2 separate regions of the Homo sapiens genome follow, and region 1 is linked to region 2. The links are contacts of gene promoters, found by promoter capture Hi-C in human tissues and cell types (Jung and others, 2019). All regions are on one chromosome and are shown on one strand. Each heading gives the region's core, a stretch centred on a gene start or on the middle of the fragment in contact. The rest is flanking DNA. Distances are from core to core; before and after follow the strand shown.

Region 1 (7,197 bases), core at 296-2,795, 770 kb before region 2:
AGGTGATCTGCCTGCCTCGGCCTCCCAGAATGCTAGGATTACAGGCACGAAACACCATGCCCAGCTAGACAAAGATTTCTTATACTGAACCAAAAAATGTACTAATAATAAAAGAAAAAGTTGATAAACTTAACTTCTCAAAATAGAATTTTCTGTTCATCAAAAGACATCATTTACAAAATGAAAAGGTAAGTTACAGAGTAGGAGAAAATACAATAGATTGATCTGTCAAAAGGCTGGTATTCAGAAAAAGAAATAAGACTCCTACAGTATAATAATAATAATGACAAACCAATCATTTAAATGGGTGGAAAACTTCAACAGAATTTTCAGGAAAAAAAAAGACATGCCAACAGCCAATAAATACATGAAAATGTGGCAAACATCATTAGCCATCATGGTAATGCAAATTAAAACTAAAATGAGATACTACTTCACACCCACTAAAATGGCTACATTCAAAGACCATCAAATTTTGCAAGGATTTGCAAGTGGGTTAGAACTCTCATCTTTGCTGGTAGTAGTACAAACTGGTAAAGCCACTTTGGAAAACTGCTTTGGCAATCTTAATAAAGTTAAATATATATGTACTCTACAACCCAGCAATTCCATCCCTAGATATTTATCCTTAGAGAAATAAAAACTTATATCCATAAAAAGACTTATGTAAGAATAGTCTAAAACTGGAAGGAACAGAAGGATGGATAAACAAACTGTGCTATATTCATACACTGACATATGATTCAGTAATAAAGAGAAAAAAACACTGATATGTGCAAGCAACATAGATGAATTGCAAAAACATTATGTAGAGTGAAAGAAGCCTCGCACATAAGAGTACATACATATTGTAAGATTCTATCTATATAAAATCTAAGAACAAGCAAAACTAATCAAAGATGACAGAAACCAAAAAAGTGGCTGCCTAGGGCAGGGGGAGGGGGATGCATGGTAGAATTTACTTGAGTGAACTTTCTGGGGTGATAAAATGTTCTGTATCTTGATTGGGTGGTACTTACTATAGTAGAAACACATCAAAAAAGGCTAGGTGTGTGGCTTACACCTGTAATTCCAGCACATTGGGAGGCTGAGGCGTGAGGATCGCTTGAGCCCAGGAGTTCAAGACCAGCTTGGGCAACATAGTGAGATCCCATCTCTATAAAAATTTTAAAAATTAGCCTGGTGTGGTGGCACATGCCTATAGTCCCAGCTACTCTGAAGGCTGCAGCAGGGGATCACTTGAACTCACAAGTTTGAGGTTACAGTGAGCTATGATCATGCCATTGCATTCTAGCTTGGGCAACAGAAAGAGATCTTGTCTCTAAAAAATAGAAAAAATTTTAAAAATTAAAATACAATTAGCAAACTTTAGTGGACATATACAAAACATTAATCAACTGCAGAATAAATATACGTTTTAAAAACAAAAGGATATTTATAAATAGTGATCACATACAAGGCCACAAGGTAAATCTCAACAAATTCCCCCCCAAAATGGTATCAATCACGCAAACCACATATTCTAATCACAACAAAATTATATCACAAGATAGTAACCTAAAAACAAATATCATTTTTGAAAATTAAAAACAGGATCATCTGAAGATATTAAGTTCCCTTGATTGTTCAGTCAGTTCCAAATACAACTCCTTATTTTACTCTTTCCCCCTTCTGACTACTGCACTTGACTAAAAAGAAAAAAAGAAAATTAAAAACACACTTCTAAGCAATCTATAGGTTAAAGAAGAAATGAGACACACAACTATGGCCAATTAATTTTATGAGAAAAGTATAAAGGCAAATCAATGGAGAAAGGACAAACTTTTCAACAAATGGTATTGGAACAATCGAACATCCATATTTTTTTTTTTTTTTTTTTGAGACGGAGTCTCGCTCTGTGGCCCAGGCTGGAGTGTGGTGGCTCCCTCTCGGCTTACTGCAACCTCCACCTCTCGGCTTCAAGCAATTCTCCTACCTCAGCCTCCTGAGTAGCTGGGATTACAGGCGTGCACCACCATGCCCTGCTAATTTTTGTATTTTTAGTAGAGGTGGGGTTTCACCATGTTGGCCAGGCTGGTCTCAAACTCTTGACCTCAGGTGATTCACCTGCCATGGCCTCCCAAAGTGCTGGGATTATAGGTGTGAGCCACCATGCCCAGACCATATATATATATATATATATTTTAAGAAGGTCTACCTACAGTTTGGATCACAATACCGAGACACAATTTTGAACGCCATAATCCTCAGTGTTGAAATCCCAAAAGAGCAAAATCCCCAAAGTCTCAATCTCTAACATCTAAGATCCCAAAAGTCACCATCACAGGATAGTTGCATCATGTTTGACCAGATCTTATGAACTATCTCCATGCTAACTGCCCAAATCTATCCCTAATGCCAGTTTTTTTATATATTGAATTTTTTTAGTTTTTTCTTTTAAAAATTTTTTTCCACTACTTTTAATTGTCAGCCTTTTTTTTTTTTTAAACAATTCTCTGTGCCATGTATTTAATCTTCACATCATTTCCAATACTGGAGATATAAATTGCATAGAGACTGTTAGAGAGTTCTAATTTGTTTTATGCATGTTTTGCAAATTTGACTCCATGAAAGTGCATTAGAATGCTGACTTTGTGTGCAAGCATTGTCCATGTACATAAAAATTGTTAAAACTTCAATAAATGAATAGATGTTCTTTTTGTAAAAAACATAAAAATAAAAATAAAGGTCTACCTAAACTTCACATCTAGTACAAAAACTAACCCAAACATGAAATACAGACTTCAGTGTAAACCATTAAACTATACAACTTTTAGAAGAAAACGCAGAATTCTTCATGACCTGGGTCAGGCAAAGAGTTTCTAGATTTAACACCAAAAGTTATGATCTGAAAAGAAAAAGTGGATCAACTGGACTTCACCAAAATTAAAATGTTTGTATTGCAAAAGACACTCAGGAGAATTTTTTTAAAAAGGAACTACAGACTGGGAGAAAATATTTGCAAATCACGTATCTGAAAGAGGATTTATATCCGGAATATGTAAAGATCATTCAAAACCTACTATTAAGAAAGCCACCCAATTAAAATATGGGCAAAGGCTTGAATAGATACTTTACAAAAAAGGATACAGAGACAGCTAATAAGCACTTGAAAAGATGCTCAACATCTTGAGTTATTAGGGAAATGCAAAACCACTATAAACAGTATTACATACCTATTAAAATGGCTAAAATTAGGAAGAAAAAATTGGATATCACCAAATGCTCACAAGCAACTGGAACTTTTATACCTTGTTGGTGGGAATGCAAATTGCGATTGCTTTGGAAAACAGTTTGGTAGTTTCTTTTAAGCTTGAACATATAATTTGAACCAGTCATTCCACTCCTAGGTATTTACCCAAGAGAAATGAAAGCCTATGTCCACAGAAATATTGTAAATGAATATTCATTCCAATTTTATTTGTAATAACCAAAAACTGCAAACAACCTAAATGTCCATCAACAGGTGAAGAGGGTTTTAAAGTTGTGATATATTAATACAATGAACAAGAACAAACTATTAGTACATGCAACATAAATCGTAAGGACTGAAATGTGCCCACTGGATTTGGTACTTAACTGCTAGTTAATAACAGGTCATGTATTTGTCAGAGCAGTTTGGGCTGTATGGTATATGGTATATGTAGAAATGACTGCACAGTGGACTGTGAATAAATGAAAGATGAAGAGGCAGAGACAGTGATGGACAACTACATTTTCAAGGACCTTGGCTGCGAAGGGAAAGAAAGAGGTTAGACTGGTAATCTAGAGGATGAGGGTTGAATTTAGGGATGAGGTTTCAGTAAGTTTACAGGGTAAGAGGAAAGGGAGAGGGGCAGAGGTTGAACACCTGAAAGAAGATAATAGTGGAGTAAAGCCTCTGGAAAAACTGGAAGAGAACAGGATCTGGAGACTGAAAAGTAAAGGAAAGCTACGTTGACATAACTTCGTCTGTGGGTGTAACAGGAAGTTACCCAGTTCCTGCATCCCTTGGCTTTATCTTCTCTGTGAAATAGGGGAATGAAGTCATCTGTAGAAACTGAGGAAGAGGTGGAGTAGGAACTTGAGGAAAGTGGTAGTGGTTAGAAATAGCTGTGTGAGCAGTGGAGAAATGAGCTGACTTGAGACAAGTCTAAGACTTGCTAGAGAACACTGAAGGCCCAACAAAGGTTATATACCATGAACCATGTCAAACTGCCATGAAAGTTTCTAAATATCTAGTAATGAGCCTCAAGCAAGTTATGGGATAAGGAGAAATGTTTTTATTTATCACTGCCAATTTGTAATAAAGTTTGGGTCCACACTAGGAGGAACATTCACCTAGACTACTACAACTACCTTCTCCCAGCTTCTAGACCTGTTCCTACTCCAAACCATTCTTCTTAGTATTGCCTGAGCCACCTTCTAAAAATAAATCTGATCATTTTAATCATTTAAGTCATTCAATAGCTTCCCAGATTCAGATAAAATCTCAAGGTATTAATAAAGCAAAAAGGGTCCTTCATAATCCAACCTCTTGTTCTCATCTCTTAGCGATCACATTCATCCTACATTCTAACCATAATGAACCAATTCCAGGTCCCCAAACACTGCCATCTCTTATTCACTGACTTTGTACATGAAATTCCCTCTGCTTGAGCTGCCCTTCTCCCTCATCCCCTGTCATCATCAAAATTTAACTCAAATATCACTCCCCTAATCAGGCCTACACTGCCTAGAAAAAAACTACACTGCCAACTGCAGGGGGGTACCATTCATAACATAATGTAAACATTGTCACATCAGAATTGTACAAACTGAGGCCCTTGGTATCCCATCTATATCTTCCCACAGTAACCATTCTGTACTTATCTGTATTTATATATCTTTATTGCAATTTGTTTATAAATATTCAAGTATAAGTTTCTCCCGGGTAGGAATTATGTCAAGGAAGCTTCCTTGACCTTATAATTTGGACTAGGTTAAATTAGGATTTTCTAATTAATCACTGTTTTTCTCCATAAAACAAAGATGGAAAGTGCTAAGAGATAACAATTAAAACAGCTAATATTTATTGAGTGTTGACTACAGGCAAGCCACTGTAGCATTTTATACACATTATCACATTTAATTTTCATAAGAACCTAAGATAGGTACCATTATAACCCCTATGTTATAGAAGAGAAAGCTGAGACACAAAGCAGTAAAGCAATTTGCCGAAAGGCACATGGCCAATAAAAAACAGCAGAATGTGAATCTAGGTAGACTATCTTAAAAGACTGCACATTTAAAATGATTTGTTTAAGCCAGGCCCAGTGGCATATACCTGTAGTCCCAGCTACTTGGGAGGCTGAGTCAAGAGGACTGCTTGAGCCTAGGAGTTCAAGGACAGCCTAGGCAACATAATGAGACCCCATCCCTGAAAAACTTTTTTTAAAAAATAATGTGTTAAATGTCTGTCTTACCTGCTTCATATGATATTAATTTTGTTCCCAGTCTACCCTCAGGACTCAAAGCCTAGTATACAGGCCTTCAATAAATAGTCTGCTAACTACCAGGTGCAGTGGCTCAAGCCTATATAATCCCAACACTTTGGGAAAAGAGGCAGGAGGATCACTTGAGGCCAGAAGTCTGAGAGCAGCCTGGGCAATACAGAGAGATCTCGTCTCTACACAAAATATTTTAAAATAAAAAAATTAGCCAGGCTTGGTGTTACATGCCCATAGCCCTAGTTACTCATGAGACCAAGATGGGAAGATTACTTGAGTCCAGGAGTTCAAGACAGTGAGACCTTGTCTCTTTAAAAAAAAAAAAAAAAAAAAAAAAAGTTTGCTAACTTAAAGATGACTCTAAATTCAGCTCTCTGAATACCTGTTAACTACTATGTTAGCCATCCTTCTTGACTTCCTCTGATCAGCAAATTTGATAAGCCTACTATGTTCCTGAAAAATTATCACTAAAAGTGTTGCAAACTCGTATATTTATGTTCAGTAGATTATTTTGACATCTCAAACCTGAACATTCACCCAACTACTGAACTGAAATCACAGCTATTTAAACTATTCAAAGGGCTAAAGAACAGACCCATTACTTTGGTAGGTTTTCCATAAAACATTATTTTACCTTTTGTCAAGGCTTGCAGTTTTTCAACAGGTAAATCAACACTCTTGTCTCATTTCGTTCAGTTTAATTATTCTTAGCTTCCAAATGCACTTCTAAGCCTTTCTCATTTTGTCACAATTCTTTTCTGCTAACCTCCTATTTGTCGCAAAGCTCCAGAGAATAAAGAGTGAGGAATAAGGTGTTCCATATTACTAATTGAATTTTTATGAGGGTGAGGGAATAAAACTTCTACAAGTTTGACTATATAAGCAGTATCTTTGGAGAACAGGAATTAGGAACTTTATGTAAACAGAGACAAAACATAAAAGAACTATCAGATGGTAAAATTACCTCCCCTCAGGAGAGCTAAATTTTAGTGAATACTTTTTACAAAACAGTTCAAAAAATTGATTGTTTTTTAAACCCAAACCCCGAGAAATGAGATGAGAAAATGAATAGACTGATGAAAAAAGTGTATATATATAAATCATCCTCGATTTTAAATTCTTTTTCCTCTTGGATGCCATATTAAACTATAAACTGAAGTATCCAACATTGAGAGTACTCAACAGTGTTTATTTGAGGTTAAGATGTTCTCACTGTGTTATCAGACTAACAATGTAACAAAGAGAAAAAGATAAGAAATGACTTCTTAAAACTAAAAATGTTGCCAGTCGCCATGGCTTATGCCTGTAATCCCAGCACTTTGGGAGGCCAAAGTGGGCGGAGAGCTTGATCCCAAGAGTTTGAGAACAGCCTGGACAACATAACAAAACCCCATCTCTACAAAATACAAAAAAATTAGCCAGACATGGTGGTGTACGCCTATAGTCCCAGCTACTTGGGAGGCTGAGATGGGAAGATCACCTGAGCCTGGGCAGCTTGAGGCTACAGTGAGCCACGATCGTGCCACTGCACTCCAACCTGGGCGACAGAGCTGTCTCAAAAACCAAAATAAAAAATAAAAATATCGTCAATCTGTCTTAATTTAATAATTTTTGATAAAAGTTATTTATCCCGGCAGGGTGCAGTGGCTCACGCCTGTAATCGCAACACTTTGGGAGGCTGAGGTGGGTG
Region 2 (7,085 bases), core at 1,972-4,471:
AATCAGCCAGGTGTGGTGGCACGAACCTGTAATCCCAGCTACTCGGGAGGGTGAGGCAGGAGAACTGCTTGATCCCGAGAGGTGGAGGTTGCAGTAAGCTGAGACTGCGCTACTGCACTCCAGCCTGGACGACGGAGCGAGACTCAGTCTCAAAGGAACAAAAAAAAAAGTAAAAGAGCGGTAACAATTACTAAAAAATTGGTTCAAATAGATAGCAAAGACAATGAAATAATAACATATTTATAACATAATTCTCAAATATATACAAACTCAAGAAATAGAGCCATTATAAAACCTACCAAATAAATGCATTAATCTGTTAAAATTTACTAATAATTGCCTTGTGTTTCTTTGCTGGATAACAGGTATATCAAATTGCCTTTGGCACTTTAATAAAATGATTTAAGTGCTCAGATTAAATACTGGTACAATTTTATAAACCTAGCACAAAGTTTGTAATAAAGTGCTTTGAAAAAAAATTTTTAAGTTAAACCTTTATTACATTATCTGTAACTGTTTAATGTTAGCAACAGAAATGTATGATTTAATGACCTTATTAAGGGAAAGGCTGCCATGGGAAATCAGCCGTAAGATACAACACTACATTATTAATATCTGTAAAACAGTAACATACCATCTGAGTCACTGCTGAACCAAGCAAACCAGATTTAGCTCCTTCTTTACATTCCTCCCCAAAATTTCATAACCAGAAAGGGATGATCTGTGGCAGTGCCTTGTGAAAAAGGGCAGTAGCTCAAGGCAGTAGTATCACAGAATTATTTAATCATTCATGGAAATCTTGCCTCTACTCTCCGTATGTCCTTGAGAAACTAAACTTGGCTTGGCTTTTAATTAACACCCAAGAAAAGAAAAAAAGTAAATCCTTATTCATAGATTTAAAAAGCTACGCAGAGAAATGTTCAACCTTGTATCCAAATGATAATTCAAAAAAAGAAACAAAGAAAAAAACTGGGGTTAAAAAAAGCTCAGAAAAAGCAAAAGTTCTTCTAGATATCTGGCACTTAGCTAGTAAGTTTTTATAACGTATCCAGGAAATAACACTGAGACCTAAATATGAAAAAAAAAAAGAAAGAAAAGAAAAGAGAAATCAGGGGGCTAGTGGGGGAACACTTAGTGGATGGTTCTACTTTATGTAGGTATGCTATCCATCTCTATCCATCTCTTAGAAAACAAAACCGGAAATCTGGGCGGGGTGGCTCACGCCCGTAATCCTAGCACTTTGGGAGGCAGAGGTGGGCGATCACCTGAGGTCGGGAGTTCGAGACCAGCCTGACCAACATGGAGAAACCCCATCTCTACTAAAAACACAAAAATTAGCCGGGCGTGTGCATGCCTGTAATCCCACCTACTCAGGAGGCTGAGGGAGGAGAATCGCTTGAAACCGGGAGCCGGAGGTTGCAGTGAGCCGAGATCGTGCCATTGCACTCCAGCCTGGGCAACAAGAGCAAAAACTCCATCTCAAAAAAAAAAAAGAGAGAGAGAAAACAGGACCGCAAAGTTTTCAAAATGGTTTATCAGGATGAAGTAAAATACAGATTTAAAAAAAAGGCAGATCACTCGTCTATAACATTATGGTGTACTAAAGTAAAAGAAAAACCCACTGGACTGATAAGAACTTTTGAGTTCTTTGTCCCACTTCGCGACATACTTTCTAGTCTTAAAATACAGTTAAAATAATAACTGGACACAAATTCTGTGTTCTTTGCATCTTTTTTTTTCTTTTTTCTGTGTGAACTCTGCTACAATTTTTTCCCTTTTTTTTCTGTGTTTGTATCTTTAAAAATGGTTATTAAAACCAGGGTTAAAGTCCCTTCCTAATCAATCATCCCTAAGACAACAAAAGTCCAGAATTCTAAAACAGCTGTTTCTAGATATAAAAATTCACCCACATACAAAATAGTGCGCGTTTTGGCTACTTCAGCCTCTTCCCTTCTCTAGAAATAACTCCTCCTTGTACTTAGTAAAGGCACACATTCACTTCAAGAGTAGGAAAATGTAAATGCTCTCTGCTCAGCGGCCGCAGCTAATTATTACTTCACACAGTAAGATCAGTGTTTGCTAAGTGTTATCAGCCAATGTACAGCACCCCCCAACACCGTCAAACGTTGTTCCAGTTATTTTACTTTAAAAGAGGATTTAAATAATGCGACGTGCTTTCCACTGAGCCACTAAGTAGGTGTGGACGCACAACCTTCAACACTAATTGCCCTTTACTAAGCCGACCAGGGCTAGACACTAAGCCAGAAAAGCCTTTTCCAGAGTTTCCTCTTCCGCACAAAAGCTTTCCTTCTGTCACTCCACCCAACCACCCAGCTCCTCCCTTAAGTGTTTGAAAGATAATTCTAAAAGTCTCCTCCCCCGAACCGCTGCGTTTCTTAAGGCCACACCATTTTAAAAATACTGTATTGCTTTTGCCAGGCTGTTGGGACCTCTTCCATCTCATTTCTATCTAAGAGTGGTTGGTACACACGAGGACCCCCTCCTTTCATTACCGCTTACAACCCACAAGTTTACTTTTCCCCATTGTAAACCTAAAGTCCCTGAGTGGCCCTTCCCTGTCCACTCGACAGTCATGCCCTGAGCCAAGAACTCCCAGGACAAGAGCCCTGCGCGGACCTCCGACGAAGAAACCGGGGTCCTTGCCCGCCCCAGCCACACAGCAACCGCGAGGGAGCACAGTAGGTGCTGCATCCACGTCGGTGCCGTTTACCCCTCAGCCAACTCCCACCGAGGCGGCTTCCTCCTCCTCGCTAGTGGGCTGGCCCTGGCGCACTGGAGCTCTTCCCTCAGACTTGGAGTCGCTTCCTCCCAAACCTCCTCCGGGGAGTCCCTGCCTCTCCTCGGCCCTCATGCGCCCACCCACGGTCCCAATCCTCACCGATCTCTTTCTCGTTGACCCTCGGGGGAAAGCTGGCCATCTATGGGGCACCGTCTGATTCCGGGAATACGATGCGGACCCAACAACAGAGAAGAGAGTGGCGACCGCTGAGGGGCGTGACGCCAAGTTGGTCCCTCCCGGGCCCAGGGACAGAGGAGACGGGCGGGGGCGGCCGCTGCGGCTTCTGCTAACTGCCTCGGGAAAGCTCCCGAAGGCCTCAGACCAAAGTACGGAGTCAACCACAGACAATAGACCCTGTACCCAGCCTCGCGCCTGCGGAGGAAGACAGTTCCCCTAAAGCGCCGACTGCAAACGAGACACTGGAGTCAAAATGGCGGGCGGCGCCGGAGATATCTGGGCGGCAGGGGCGCGGCCACGTGACGTCACAGCCCGAGGCCCCCGCCTCCCGACGCACGGGACGTGATCTCCCCGGCCCGGCGCGGGCGTTGCCTGGGGGCCTCGCAGGGGGAGATCCAGCCCAGGCTGGTTCCGCTGACTCTGCCTGTAGGCCGGTGGCGTCTTCTGGGCCTGGATGGTCTAATATGGAGTTTATAAGCTGAAGTGGCTTTGAAAAGGGCAAGCAGAGAATTGTATTATTATTAGCCTCCTAGCTTAAAGATTGCATGGAACTTAAACTGGCTGAACCAAAAGAACAAAAAGACATTTCAGGTTTTCACTCAATTTGGCCAACTCCCCAGCCCACAAGTAATAGGGAACTGAAGGATGCACTGATGAAAAAGACAGGATGAAAATTAACATCGTTGTGCACCACCTGTCCAGCTGCGATTGTTCAGACCTGAGCCAGCAGGTTTTAGGAAGGGCCGAGGGGAACGAGAAGGAGACTCGGGCGTGATCGCGCCGCACCGCGCCGCGGGGCCTCTCTGGACTGCCTTTGTCCTGGCCAAGATGGATCCCACTGTCCTGGCCAAGATGGATCCCACTGTGTCAGCTCAGAATTGGCCCTTCCTCCACCTTACCTGAAGGCCTCTGGGAGGCACCTAGTTGTCCACACATCAGACTGATAAATGTGTCAGTATCTGCTAGATGCCAGCTTGGTTCCCGGTCACAGATGACGTATTTGCATTTTAATGGCTTCTCGTGTGGACCCTAAACATTGCAAAGGCCTGGGGCGTATAAGACTGGGAATTCAAATATGTGGCAGATATTCATGGGACAGAGTAGAGTGTTGCATAGCCGCTTTTTTTTTTTTTTTTTTTTTTTTTTTTGAGACGGAGTCTCGCTTCTCCCAGGCTGGGGTGCAATGGCGTGATCTTGGCTCACTGCAACCTCCGTTTCCCGGGTTCAGGCAATTCTCCTGCCTCAGCCTCCCCAGTAGCTGGGATTTGTACAGGCATGTGACACCAAGCCCGGGTAATTTTTGTATTTTTAGTACAGAGGGCGTTTCACCCTGTTGGCCAGGCTAGTCTCGAACTCCTGGCCTCGAGTGATCCGCCCGCCTCAGCCTCCCAAAGTGCTGGGATTACAACGTGAGCCACCACGCCCGGCTGCATAGCCGCTTTTAAGAGATCTCAAATGATAACACTGTAGGGCATGTTTACTTCATCTTTTCTTTGCATGAGTGTATTAATTCTTCAAATAGCGAAATGTTTAATAAAACATCGCCCCTCCTTTTTTTTTTTTTTGGTTATTTATTTATTTTTTTTTTTGAGACGGAGTCTTGCTCTGTCTCCCAGAGCAGAGTGCAGTGGCGCCAACTCGGCTCACTGCAACCTCTGCCTCCCGGGTTCAGGCGATTCTCCTGCCTCAGCCTCCCGAGTAGCTGGGACTACAGGTGGCTGCCACCACGCCCAGCTAATTTTTTTCATCCTTTTAGTAGGGAGGGGGTTTCACGATATTGGCCAGGCTGGTCTTGAACTCCTGACCTTGTGATCTGCCCACCTCGGCCTCTCAAAGTGCTAGGATTAGAGGCGTTAAGCTACTGCGCCCTGCCTGCCCCTCGTCTTTAAAAAAAAATCACTTTGTTAGGCTGGGGGCGGTGGCTCACGCCTGTAATCTCAGCGCTTTGGGAGGCTGAGGCGGGTGTCAGGAGTTCGAGACCAGCCTGGCCAACATGGTGAAACCCCCATCTCTACTAAAAATACAAAAAATTAGCCAGGCGTAGTGGCGAAGTCCCAGCTACTCTGGAGGCTAAGGCAGGAGAATTGCTTGAAACCGGGAGGCAGAGGTTGCAGTGAGCTGAGGTTGCACCACTGCACTCTAGCCTGGGTGACAAGAGTGAAACTCTGTCTCAATAAATAAATAAATCAATAAATCACTTTGTTAGCTTCAGTCAACGATATCTTGAGGACTCACTCTGTATCAGGCACTGGGCCTAGTTGCTGAATTTTTAGAGTAGAACAAAAGAAAAACTTTAATGCAGTCTTGTAGCTCATGTACCAACATTCATATCAGTCTGAGTTAATTCTTTTAACCAACTGCTATTATCCCTGTTACTTGTACTATACCATACAAATTCATGGGAAATACCAGTTTTTGAGTGTCCAACAGTGAATTATTGTGATGACTTTTTCTTTTTTTTTTTCTCCCTGAGATGGAGTCTCACTCTGTCGCCCAGGCTGGAGTGCAGTGGCACGATCTCGGCTCACTGCAACCTTTGCCTCCTGGGTTCAGGTGATTCTCCTACCTCAGCCTTCCGAGTAGCTGGGATTACAGGCACACGCCACCATGGCTGGCTGATTTTTGTATTTTTAGTAGAGACGGGATTTCACCATGTTGGCCAGGCTGGTCTCAAACTCCTGACCTCAAGTGATCTGCCCGCCTTGGCCTCCCAAAGTGCTGGAATTACAGGCGTGAGCCACCCCGGCCAGACTTTTTAATACAATTGTTTAATTTCTATTTTAGTTTATTCCTGCAAGCCAACAGACTTCCTGGCCATTTTCTCAACTGGCAAAGCATGACAATGGAATGAAAAATAATTTTATGATTTGTGTACTCATTAGTAATAGATACTTCTAAGCACTGAGCCATATAAGTGCTTCTGTGGATTAACCGATTTCATGCTCACAACATATGAGCAGTGTATTGACATACATTACAGAAAAACTTTAATGCAGTCTTGTAGCTCATATACCAACATTTATATCCATCTCAGTTAATTCTTTTAACCAACTGCTATTATCCCTGTTACTTGTACTATACCATACAAATTCATGGGAAATACCAGTTCTTGAGTGTCCATCAGTGAATTATTGTGATGACTTTTTCTTTTTTTTTTTTCTCCCTGAGATGGAGTCTCATTCTGTCGCCCTGGCTGGAGTGCACATACAGTGTATTGACATACATTTCATAGACACTTAGTAACCTGAGAAGCCACAGGACAGAGTAAGCTGCAGGGGCTAGATCTGAACTCAGACTTGTTTGACTGCCCTGCTTCCATGCTACCTTGCCTCTCATAAATGAAACCTAGCTTGAAAAGCAAATATATACCTGGCATTTCATATCTGTGTTTGCTACTTTAATGTCAAATCTGAAGGGGCTTCTTATTCCCTACATGTCGCATAGATGTTGGGGTTCTCTAGAGTTCTGTCCTTGGCCCACAGCTTTTTTTTTTTCCTTCTTTCGCAGTCTCCCTGGGTGATGGCAACCTCTTTCTTGGGTTTAAATACCAGCTCTGTGTGAAGACCCTCAAGTTGAGAGCTAACTTCCGTCTTTTTTTTTTTTTTTTGAGACGGAGTCTTGCTTTGTCACCCAGGCTGGAGTGCAACAGCGCGATCTCAGCTCACTGCAACCTTCGCCTCCTGGACTCAAGCAGTTCTCCTGTGTCAGCCTTCCCAGTAGGTGGGATTACAGGTGCACACCACCATACCCAGCTAATTTTTGTATTTTTAGTAAAGACAGTGTTTCACCATGTTGACCAGGCTGGTCTCGAACTCCTGACCTCAGGTGATCCACCTGTGTCGGCTTCCCAAAGTGCCGGGATTACAGGCATGAGCCACTGAGCCCGGCCTGTCTTAAGTTTAAAATTTACATGTTCAAATGCTTACAATAAAACTCAAAATGTCAAAACTGAACACATCATTTCTCCTCAGTCTGCTCCATCTTTTGTATTTCCTACTCTAGTGAAATGTCCACCCAGTCACAGGTGCCAGAGGTGAGTCTTCCTAGCTTCCCTGCTATGCCTCATCCCAACATGAAATCAACCAATCCACAAGGCTTGCCAATATTT

Evidence for each region. Contacts are between HindIII fragments. The study calls those that stand out against the background at their distance.
Region 1: a contact is called between a fragment that was not itself captured here and the fragment with the promoter of WSB1 in region 2, in 1 of the 25 tissues and cell types used here (hippocampus).

What each region holds. Positions count from the first base shown.
Region 1 is chr17:28,062,823-28,070,019 of GRCh38, reverse strand. All of the region lies in intron 1 of NLK (nemo like kinase), which reads right to left. Among named protein-coding and RNA genes, the nearest start is that of NLK, 24 kb to the right of the region's middle. The HindIII fragment of the contact is 5,235 bases long and covers 1-4,162 here.
Region 2 is chr17:27,290,250-27,297,334 of GRCh38, reverse strand. It overlaps WSB1 (WD repeat and SOCS box containing 1), which reads right to left and starts at 3,221. Exons shown (of 9, transcript NM_015626.10): 1 at 2,900-3,221. The coding sequence starts at 2,939. It overlaps MIR4522 (microRNA 4522), which reads left to right and starts at 3,339; the gene lies at 3,339-3,425. RefSeq lists enhancers at 2,943-3,002, 3,013-3,072, 3,443-3,492 and a silencer at 3,193-3,402. The HindIII fragment of the contact is 10,527 bases long and covers 1-7,085 here.